Regions from separate parts of the Homo sapiens genome. Here region 1 is linked to region 2. Evidence: promoter capture Hi-C in human tissues and cell types (Jung and others, 2019). All regions are on one chromosome and are shown on one strand. The core of a region is centred on a gene start or on the middle of the fragment in contact, and the rest is flanking DNA. Distances in the headings are between cores, read along the strand shown. Region 1 overlaps TMED10 (transmembrane p24 trafficking protein 10). Region 2 holds the start of RPS6KL1 (ribosomal protein S6 kinase like 1).

Evidence for each region. The method cuts DNA at HindIII sites, captures the fragments that hold promoters and counts their contacts. A contact is called where the count stands out against the background at its distance.
Region 1: a fragment that was not itself captured here is called in contact with the fragment with the promoter of RPS6KL1 in region 2 in 1 of the 25 tissues and cell types used here (bladder).

Annotation. Positions count from the first base shown.
Region 1 is chr14:75,151,504-75,155,583 of GRCh38, forward strand. It overlaps TMED10 (transmembrane p24 trafficking protein 10), which reads right to left. Exons shown (of 5, transcript NM_006827.6): 2 at 529-640. Among named protein-coding and RNA genes, the nearest start is that of TMED10, 23 kb to the right of the region's middle. RefSeq lists an enhancer at 861-1,525. The HindIII fragment of the contact is 4,149 bases long and covers 1-3,377 here.
Region 2 is chr14:74,920,263-74,924,515 of GRCh38, forward strand. It overlaps RPS6KL1 (ribosomal protein S6 kinase like 1), which reads right to left and starts at 2,998. Exons shown (of 12, transcript NM_031464.5): 1 at 2,918-2,998; 2 at 1,716-2,223; 3 at 1,015-1,299. The coding sequence starts at 1,279. RefSeq lists enhancers at 1,751-2,522, 2,523-3,293 and silencers at 2,664-3,073, 3,164-3,223. The HindIII fragment of the contact is 16,501 bases long and covers 1-4,253 here.

The DNA.
Region 1 (4,080 bases), core at 53-2,552, 230 kb after region 2:
CCACCATGCCCAGCCTTTTTTTTAAGACTTCACTTTGTTAGAGCAGTTTTAGGTTCACAACAAAACTGAGAGGAAGGCACAAAGATTTCCCATATCCCCCTTCCTCTTACATATGCATAGCCTCCCCCATTATCACCATTTCCCACCAGAGTGGTACATTCATTACAAATGATGAACCTACATGGACACATCACTATCTACCAAAGTCCACAGTTTACATTAGGATTCACTCTTGGTGTACATTCCAAATGTAATGTTCGGACAACCATATAATGACATGTATCCACTATTACAGTATCATACAGAATATTTTTACTGCCCTAAAAATTCTCTCTGTTCCACCTATTCAATCTTTTATTCCATGTAGTCGACCTTTTAAAAGGTGCTCCAAAGACTACAAGGTAACAGGTCTCCAAATCAGAATAAATAAAGAATACAAATGAAACTAGATATTAAGTGCTGACTGTATTAAGGAGCATTAGAGTTGGAGAAGATTCTTAATCCAGAGAAACACTCTTGATTACTCACCCTTGCTCTCAAAACACACTTCAAACATGTCATAATCTTCAGTGGTAAAGGCAAATTTCCCCTTGGTTGCATCCTCTTTGGAGTAGAGAATATGGCCAGCAGAATCTGTGATCTAAAATAAGAAAAGTAGTAAGAATAGGCAGCAAATAACACTCAGGAAGAGAACTTACAGAAACTGGGAAGATAGAGACACTATCTATGAAAGACAATTGATAGTTCTCATTATGATGACTATGTTCCAACCATCCCCAAAGACAAAAACTGGATTAGAAGATTAAATCCAAATACAGCAAATTTCATCCATTCAAATAGCCTAATCACACTGTGGGCTAAAATCTGTTGCTGCTATAGGATGTCTTACCATACCAAAAAGTTAATCTAGCTAATGCTCCAAGTTACATACATTGGATTTATTGGCAAAAACTCACTAGTATCATTCCGCATAGAGGAACATGTCACAAAAATGAAAGTAGACAATTATCAAAAGATTATACAAGAGGGACAAAGATATATAAAAACACATTTATTCTATAAAACAAATTTGATGGGGAAGGGGTGTGGGTGGAGAATAAAATTAGGACACACAATACAAGGACAGCAGGAAGAAAAGCATACATAGAGAAGACAATCCAGGAGATCTATTCCTGCAAATTTCATGTTAATTATGTCAACGGCCAGGTAGAGTGGGAACAAAACACAGGAAACAAAAAAGAAGTTTCTGGCCAGGCATGGTGGCTCACGCCTGTAATCCCAAACTTTGGAACGCCAAGGCAGGAGGATCACTTGAGCTCAAGAGTTCAAGACCTGGCTGGGCGCGGTGGCTCACGCCTGTAATCCCAGCACTTTGGGAGGCCGAGGCGGATGGATCACGAGGTCAAGAGATCAAGACCATCCTGGCCAACCAACATGGAGAAACCTCGTCTCTACTAAAAATACCAAAATCAGCTGGGCGCAGTGGCATATGCCTGTAGTCCCAGCTACTCAGGAGGCTGAGGCAGGAGAATCGCTTGAACCTGGGAGGCGGAGGTTGCAGTGAGCCAAGATTGCGCCACTGCACTCCAGCCCAGATGACAGAGTGAGATTCTGTCTCAAAAAAAAAGTGTTCAAGACCAACATGGCGAAACCTCATCTCTACAAAAAATACAAAAATTAGCCAGGCATGGTGGTGCGCACCTATAGTCCCAGGTACTGGGAAGCTTGCCGTGTCACTGCAGCCTGGGTGACAGAGCAAGACTCTGTCTCAAAAAAACAAAAACAAAAACAAAAAGGAGAGAAATTTATCCTAAAAAAAAAAAGGTATCTTTGGCTTCCATAAATGATTATTCCTTTCTTCTAGATCCTTAGCTTTAGCTCTTCAGACTTAAGCTGCTCTATTACCAAAGAATGGCCTATCAGCACAGAATAAAGGGCATATACTGCTAAGTAAACAGCCACATACAAAGCAAGGGAATTCCATGGTAATTTAACAGACTGGATCTTAGCCTTCATTTCTAGAGCACGTGGCTGTCTTAGTAGAAAGCATATTTCATCACTTAAGACTGGAAGCTACTTTGCAATGTGGAACACAAAAGTAGTGGCTTAATTACATTAAACTGGATGTTCTAATGCTATTTGTTAAAACATAATTCTTTTAAGGGGAAATTTTAAGCAGGAAAATTAAGTAGCACACATTTAAGCTTATATATTTAAAAGTACTTTATAACAGTAGTTATTTCTGAGGGGTGAGACTTTCTATTTTTTTTTCCCTTTTTTTTTTTGAAATGGAGTCTCACTCTGTCCCCAGGCTGGAGTGCAGTGGCGTGATCTCGGCTCTCTGCAACCTCCGCCTCCCGGGTTCAGGTGATTCTCCTGCCTCAGCCTCCCGAGTAGCTGGAACTACAGGCACCCACGACCATGCCCAGCTAATTTTTTTGTATTTTTAGTAAAGACAGGGTTTCCCTGTGTTGGCCAGGATGGTCTCGATCTCCTGACCTCATAATCCAACCCGCCTCGGCTTCCCAAAGTGCTGGGGTTACAGGCGTGAGCCACCACACCCGGCCTTTTTTGAAAATGACATGTAGCCGGGCGTGGTAGCTCTGCCAGGTGCAGTGGCTCACGCACCTGTAATCCCAGCACTTTGGGAGGCCGAGGCAGGTGGATCACCTGAGGTCAGGAGTTTGAGACCAGCCTGGCCAACATGGTGAAACCCCGTCTTTACTAAAAATACAAAAAAAAAAAAAAATTAGCCAGGAGTGGTATTGGGCGCCTGTAATCCCAGCTACTTTGGAGGCTGAGGCAGGATAATCGCTTGAACCCGGGAGGCAGAAGTTGCGGTGAGCCGAGACTGTGCCACTGCACTCCAGCCTGGGCAACACAGCGAGACTCTGTCTCAAAAAAAAAAAAAAAAAAAAAAAAAAAAAGGCATGTATCACTGGATCACTTATATTCAAAAATAATAATAAAGTTATTTTATTTTGGAAAAAATTGATAATAACTAAAGAAAAGTTATCACTACTAGATAAATTTGAAATGACAGATTAACTAAAAAAAGTTTTATGGCACATCTTCTAAATTCCCTAATAAACAGTAGTATTAGTCAACTGTCTTCTGCCATCCAGCACCATTTGCTAATTTGTCAAACTTTTAAATTTATTTTTATTTATTTATTTTTGAGACAGAGTCTCGCTCTGTCACCCAGGCTGGAGTGCAGTGATGCGATCTCGGCTTACTGCAACCTCTGCCTCCCGGGTTCAAGCGATTCTCCTGCCCCAGCCTCCCAAGTGGCTGGGATTACAGGCACATGCCACCACACCCGGCTAATTTTTTGTATTTTTGGTAGAGACGGGGTTTCACCGTGTTAGCCAGGATGGTCTTGATCTCCTGACCTCGTGATCCACCTGCCTTGGCCTCTGAAAGTGCTGGGATTACAAGTGTAAGCCATCTCACCTGGCCCTTTTTTTTTTTTTGAGACAGAGTCTCGCTGTGTCACTCAGGTTGTAGGGCAGTGGCGCAATCCCGGCTCACTGCAACCTCCGCCTTCCGGATTCAAGTGATTCTCCTGCCTCAGCCTCCCAAGTAGCTGGGACTACAGGCATGCACCCCCAAGCCCGGCTAATTTTTATGTTTTTAGTAGAGATGGGGTTTCACCATGTTGGCCAGGCTGGTCTCCAACTCCTGACCTCAAGTGATCCGCCTGCCTTGGCTTTTCCAAACTGCTGGGATTACAGGTGTGAGCCACCACGCCCGGCCTAATTTATCAAACATTTAAGATACCTAGACCTGTGCTGGTCACTGGGATACAAGTATGAGTAAGATAGTTCCTGTCTTCAAAGGGCTTATGAGTCTAAATGAGGAGAGGAGAGTGATAAGAAATGATATGCCTTCATAGTGGTTTTGGTTTGCATTTCCCTGATGGTTAGTGATACTGGGGAACTTTTAATGTATTTGTTAGACATTTGTATGGGGTGATGAAATATGTTAATTAGCTTGATTGTGGTATTCACTTCACAATGTGTATGTATAACAAAACATCACATTATATATCTTGAATATAAACAATTTTTATTTGCCAAT
Region 2 (4,253 bases), core at 1,748-4,247:
AGGGACAGGGTGGGGATTTCCCCATCCATTTTTTCAGAGGAGGGGATAGAAGATTCCAGAGAGCATTGCTTCTTCCATCTCTGATGCCCAGTGTAAAGAAGGCTAGGGTGGGGACCAGGATCGGGGGATAAAGGAATTTGCTGGACAGACTGGAAGCCCAGGCTTGAAGGGTCTCTTCAGCCAGAGGGCAGGAAGGGCCCAGTGCCCACCTCAAGGCCTGGCCACCAGGGCCCACAGGCGTCTCAAAATGGCCTCAGCACCAGCCTCTCCCCTGACATGGAAGTTCCTCATGCTGCCCTGGAGGGACCTCCCCTCTCGCCTCTAGGCCTTGAATGTTCTTTCTGGAACTCTAGCCAGTTCTTCAGCTGGATAACGCACCTACCATTCTCCAGTGCTCAGATTAGAGATCTAACATCTAGAAAATGCTCTAGGCCGGCCCAGTCTGACCTCAGTTTCCCTCTTTCCTCTCTTCACTTCCCCACTAATCCTCTTCCTACCTGAGACTATAATGGTCCAAATCAACTCATCAGTCTCCCCCCACTAGAATGCAAACTCCCAGAGGGCAGGAGCCCAGCCCAGCTCCAGGAACAGTCAGGTGTAGTGGGCCAAGTACACAGCCTGTGAAGTGAAACCCCAATTGTGCCATTTGATAGCTGTGGAGCCTTGAGCAAGCTACTGAACTGCCCCATGCCTCAGCTTCCTCATCTGGAACATGAGAATGTAAAAAATGGTTCCTGTGTGCTTGGAACAACATACAACAACATATATAGTAATTTCTATTACTGTGACACTCAAATGAATGAATCTACATGAAGCCCTTAGAATAGTACCTGGCATGTAGAAACTGCTTAATAAGTGCCAGCTATCATTGTCTTTTATGGAGGCCCTGCAGGCCAGCATAGTGCCGTGCTCACTCAGTACAAATGGACAGGGGACAAGACAGATGGGTGACAGGAAGAGCCCTGCACTGGCCCTTCCCCACCCACCCCAGCCCTGCCCAGCCCCGGTCCTCACCGTGTATGCCACGGAGCAGCACGTCCACGCCATTCTGATAGTGGTTGAAGGCCGCCTCATAGTCCTCACTAACATCGCGCTCCAGGGCCAGCCGGATCTGCGTGGCCGCATCCACCAGATAGTCACGTTTTGTCATGTCAGGCACTCCCAGAGCCACCCTGTTGCGAATCTGCTCCAGGTACACGTGAGCTTGGGACCGTGCTCGTGAGCAAGGCTCAGGCTCCAGGCCGGGGCTGGGCAGGCACTCACAGGCCACCAGGCTCATGGCTGCCCTGCAGCTGGGACCTGGAATGGGCAAATGCATTAGGGAGGACCTAGCTGGTAGCAACACCCCTATCCGCACCCCAGTTTCCTCCACTGAATGTCAGGGAGACTCATATTCACCTCCAAAGACTGAAGGGGTCAGAGCTAAAGTGGGTAAGGTCTTTTCATGGATCCAGGTCCTTCCTAAGTGGTGGTAATGATAGAATCATAACCAGCTCAGGATTCTGTTTTCTTTTCTTTTTTTTTTTTTTTTTTGAGTCAGAGTCTCGCTATGTCACCCAGGCTGGATTGCAGTGGTGCGATCTCGGCTCACTGCAACCTCCACTTCCCAGGTTCAAGCAATTCTCCTGCCTCAGCATCCCAAGTAGCTGGGATTACAGGCACTTGCCTACCACACCTGGCTATGTTTTGTATTTGTAGTAGAGACGGGGTTTTACCATGTTGGCCAGGCTGGTCTTGAACTCCTGACCTCAAGTGATCCGTCTGCCTCGGCCTCCCACAGTGCTGGGATTATAGACGTGAGCCACCGCGCAGGCCTGGGGCTCTGTTTTCCTTTCCAGTCAAATTCAGTTCAGCAAACATTTCTGGAGCATCTGGTACTGTGTTGAGCTCTGGAGAGAGCTGAGGATATCTGTGATCCACAGCCACCTTCACAGGGCCTCCGTAGAGCAAGCTTGGTATCCAGTACGCATTCAGCACATGGAGGCCACACACGCTGGGCTCAAATGCTGTTCCTCATGCTGTTCCCTCCACCCTGCCTGTTGTCTCCTCCCTGCTCCTCCTGTGGGAATCTCATTTACCCTTTGGGGTTTAGCACTTCTCCGTGGACCGGATGGATTGCCCCTGCTGTGTTTTGTTCCCTTGGTCCTGAGGTCAGTGTGGTCAGCGAGTGAGGACCCCTCCTGGAGCCAGCAGAGAGCAGAGCACAGAGCTGGGCTGTAAGAACTGTTGGCAGACGGAATGACTGAGTGGCAGACTCGGTGCCACGTTGGATGGGGGGTAGAAGAGGGCAGGGTGACCCAGCCCCAGGGAGGGTCGCTCTGTCCTCCTGGCTTTACTTTTGAGAAGGTCATGTGGCCTCCAAGGACCTGACAGCAGCTTCTTCCTGAGCAATGTGTGACCCAGGCGGCCAAAGGGATGACAGCCGTGGCTGCGGGAAGGGAAGGGGCTCAGAGAGAGGCCCACAAAGCTACCCCGCCTTTGCTCTCCCAGGTCCCACTGGGAATGGGCAGGACCCGGAACTTCCAACCCCAGGTCATTTGGAGAGAAAGAGGAGAGAGCAGGATGGGCGGTGGGGCGGGGAGGGAGACCCACAGCCTCAGCCGGCGGGGAGCTGAATCCCGGCCAGGATGCGGCCAGGAGGCAGAGGGAGGCCGCACCATCCCTGCTCGGCCAAGCCCAGGGGAACTTGAGGCTCTGAGGCCTTGCTCTGGGGGGTGCCCGGGTAGGACTGGCTTCAGGGTCCACCCCGCCGGGCAGGGTCCTGCCGGGCAGAGCCGCCGGCCCCGCCTGGACACAGAAAGCGGCGCGTGCAACCCACGGGGCCCCAGCCGCAAGGTGCACGGTCCCAGGGTGGAGGGACGGCCGAGGGGGCCCCTCGCCTGGGAGGGTGGAGAAGGGACCGGACAAAACACCGTACCTGCCCGAGCTGGGAGCCGGGTCCGCGGGCCAGGCCTCCCCCTCACGTACCGGCCCTTCACGCCAGAGCGCGCCGCGGGCCGCTGCTTTCCGGCATCCAGCGTGCGGGGCCAGCCGGTGCAGCGCGGCCATTGGCTGCGGATGAGCTCATACTTGAGCCTTAGAATAAACCACCAATCACCGCCCGGCTCGGCTCCTGCCGGCCTTAAAGCCGCAAGGTCTGCACGGCTGGGCTGTGAGGGGCGGGGGGCGGTTTAGAGAGGGGAGGGTGGGATGGGATGTGGGGTGGGTGGGGAGAGCAGGTCTAGAATCATCCAGGGATGCGGAAGGGGCTGCTTCAGAAATCTAGACGTGCCACTTCTAGGACTTTTCTCATTCATTGCTTCATTCATTTATTCAACGATTCAATGCTATGTATTGAGAGTCTCCCATGCATGAGGAGCTGGATGTTGAGATACAGCCGTGAACTAGACAGCGCTGTTTACATCCGCATGGGGCTTACAGTCTAGTGAGGGCTACCGAGAGTAAAGAACCCAGCAATAGAAGGCTTTTGATATCAGAACCGAGCTTAAAATTCAAGACATAGGCCGGGTGCGGTGGCTCATGCCTGTAATCTCTGCATTATGGAAGGCTGAGGCGGGAGGATCATTTGAACCTAGGAGTTCAAGACCAGCCTGGGCAACATAGGTAGACCCAATCTCTATAAAAATTACAAAATTTAGCTGGGCATGGTGGCGTGTGCCTGTGGTCCCAGTTACTCAGGAGGCTGAGGTGGGAGGATGGAGTGAGCTCGGGAGGTTGAGGCTGCAGCGAGCCGAGATCGTGTCACTGCACTCCAGCCTGGGTGATGGGGCAACAGATCACAGGCAACCCTGTGACACAGATCTCACCTGCAGGTTCAGTGCTGACTGGCTTCACACTGTCCCCCGGCTGCACTTGCTCTACCTTAGACACCCTTTCATACTTTCTCCCTCTGACTCCCACCCGTCCCCCTATCCTCACTCTCAGCCAGCACTGTTGCTTCATCCTTCCCTTGACAGCAGTGGCGCACAGACTCCCACAGGCTTGCTCTTGGCCCGCGGGCGGGGCTGTGCCCACACTCTGCTTCCAACCTTTTTCCACAGGTGACTGTCTGTGCCCCATCGAAGGCCACCCTTCCAGGTGGGCATCAGTCCCGTGCCATCACCTACTCAGCGACACCACTCCAGCGATTCTCCCGTCTCTCCCACTAGATAATTCCCACCTGATACAAACATAATGCTTGTTTCTCCCCTCTTAAAAGCAAAACAAGAAAACAAACCAAAATACACTCTAGGCCTCACTTCTTTACCTACCAC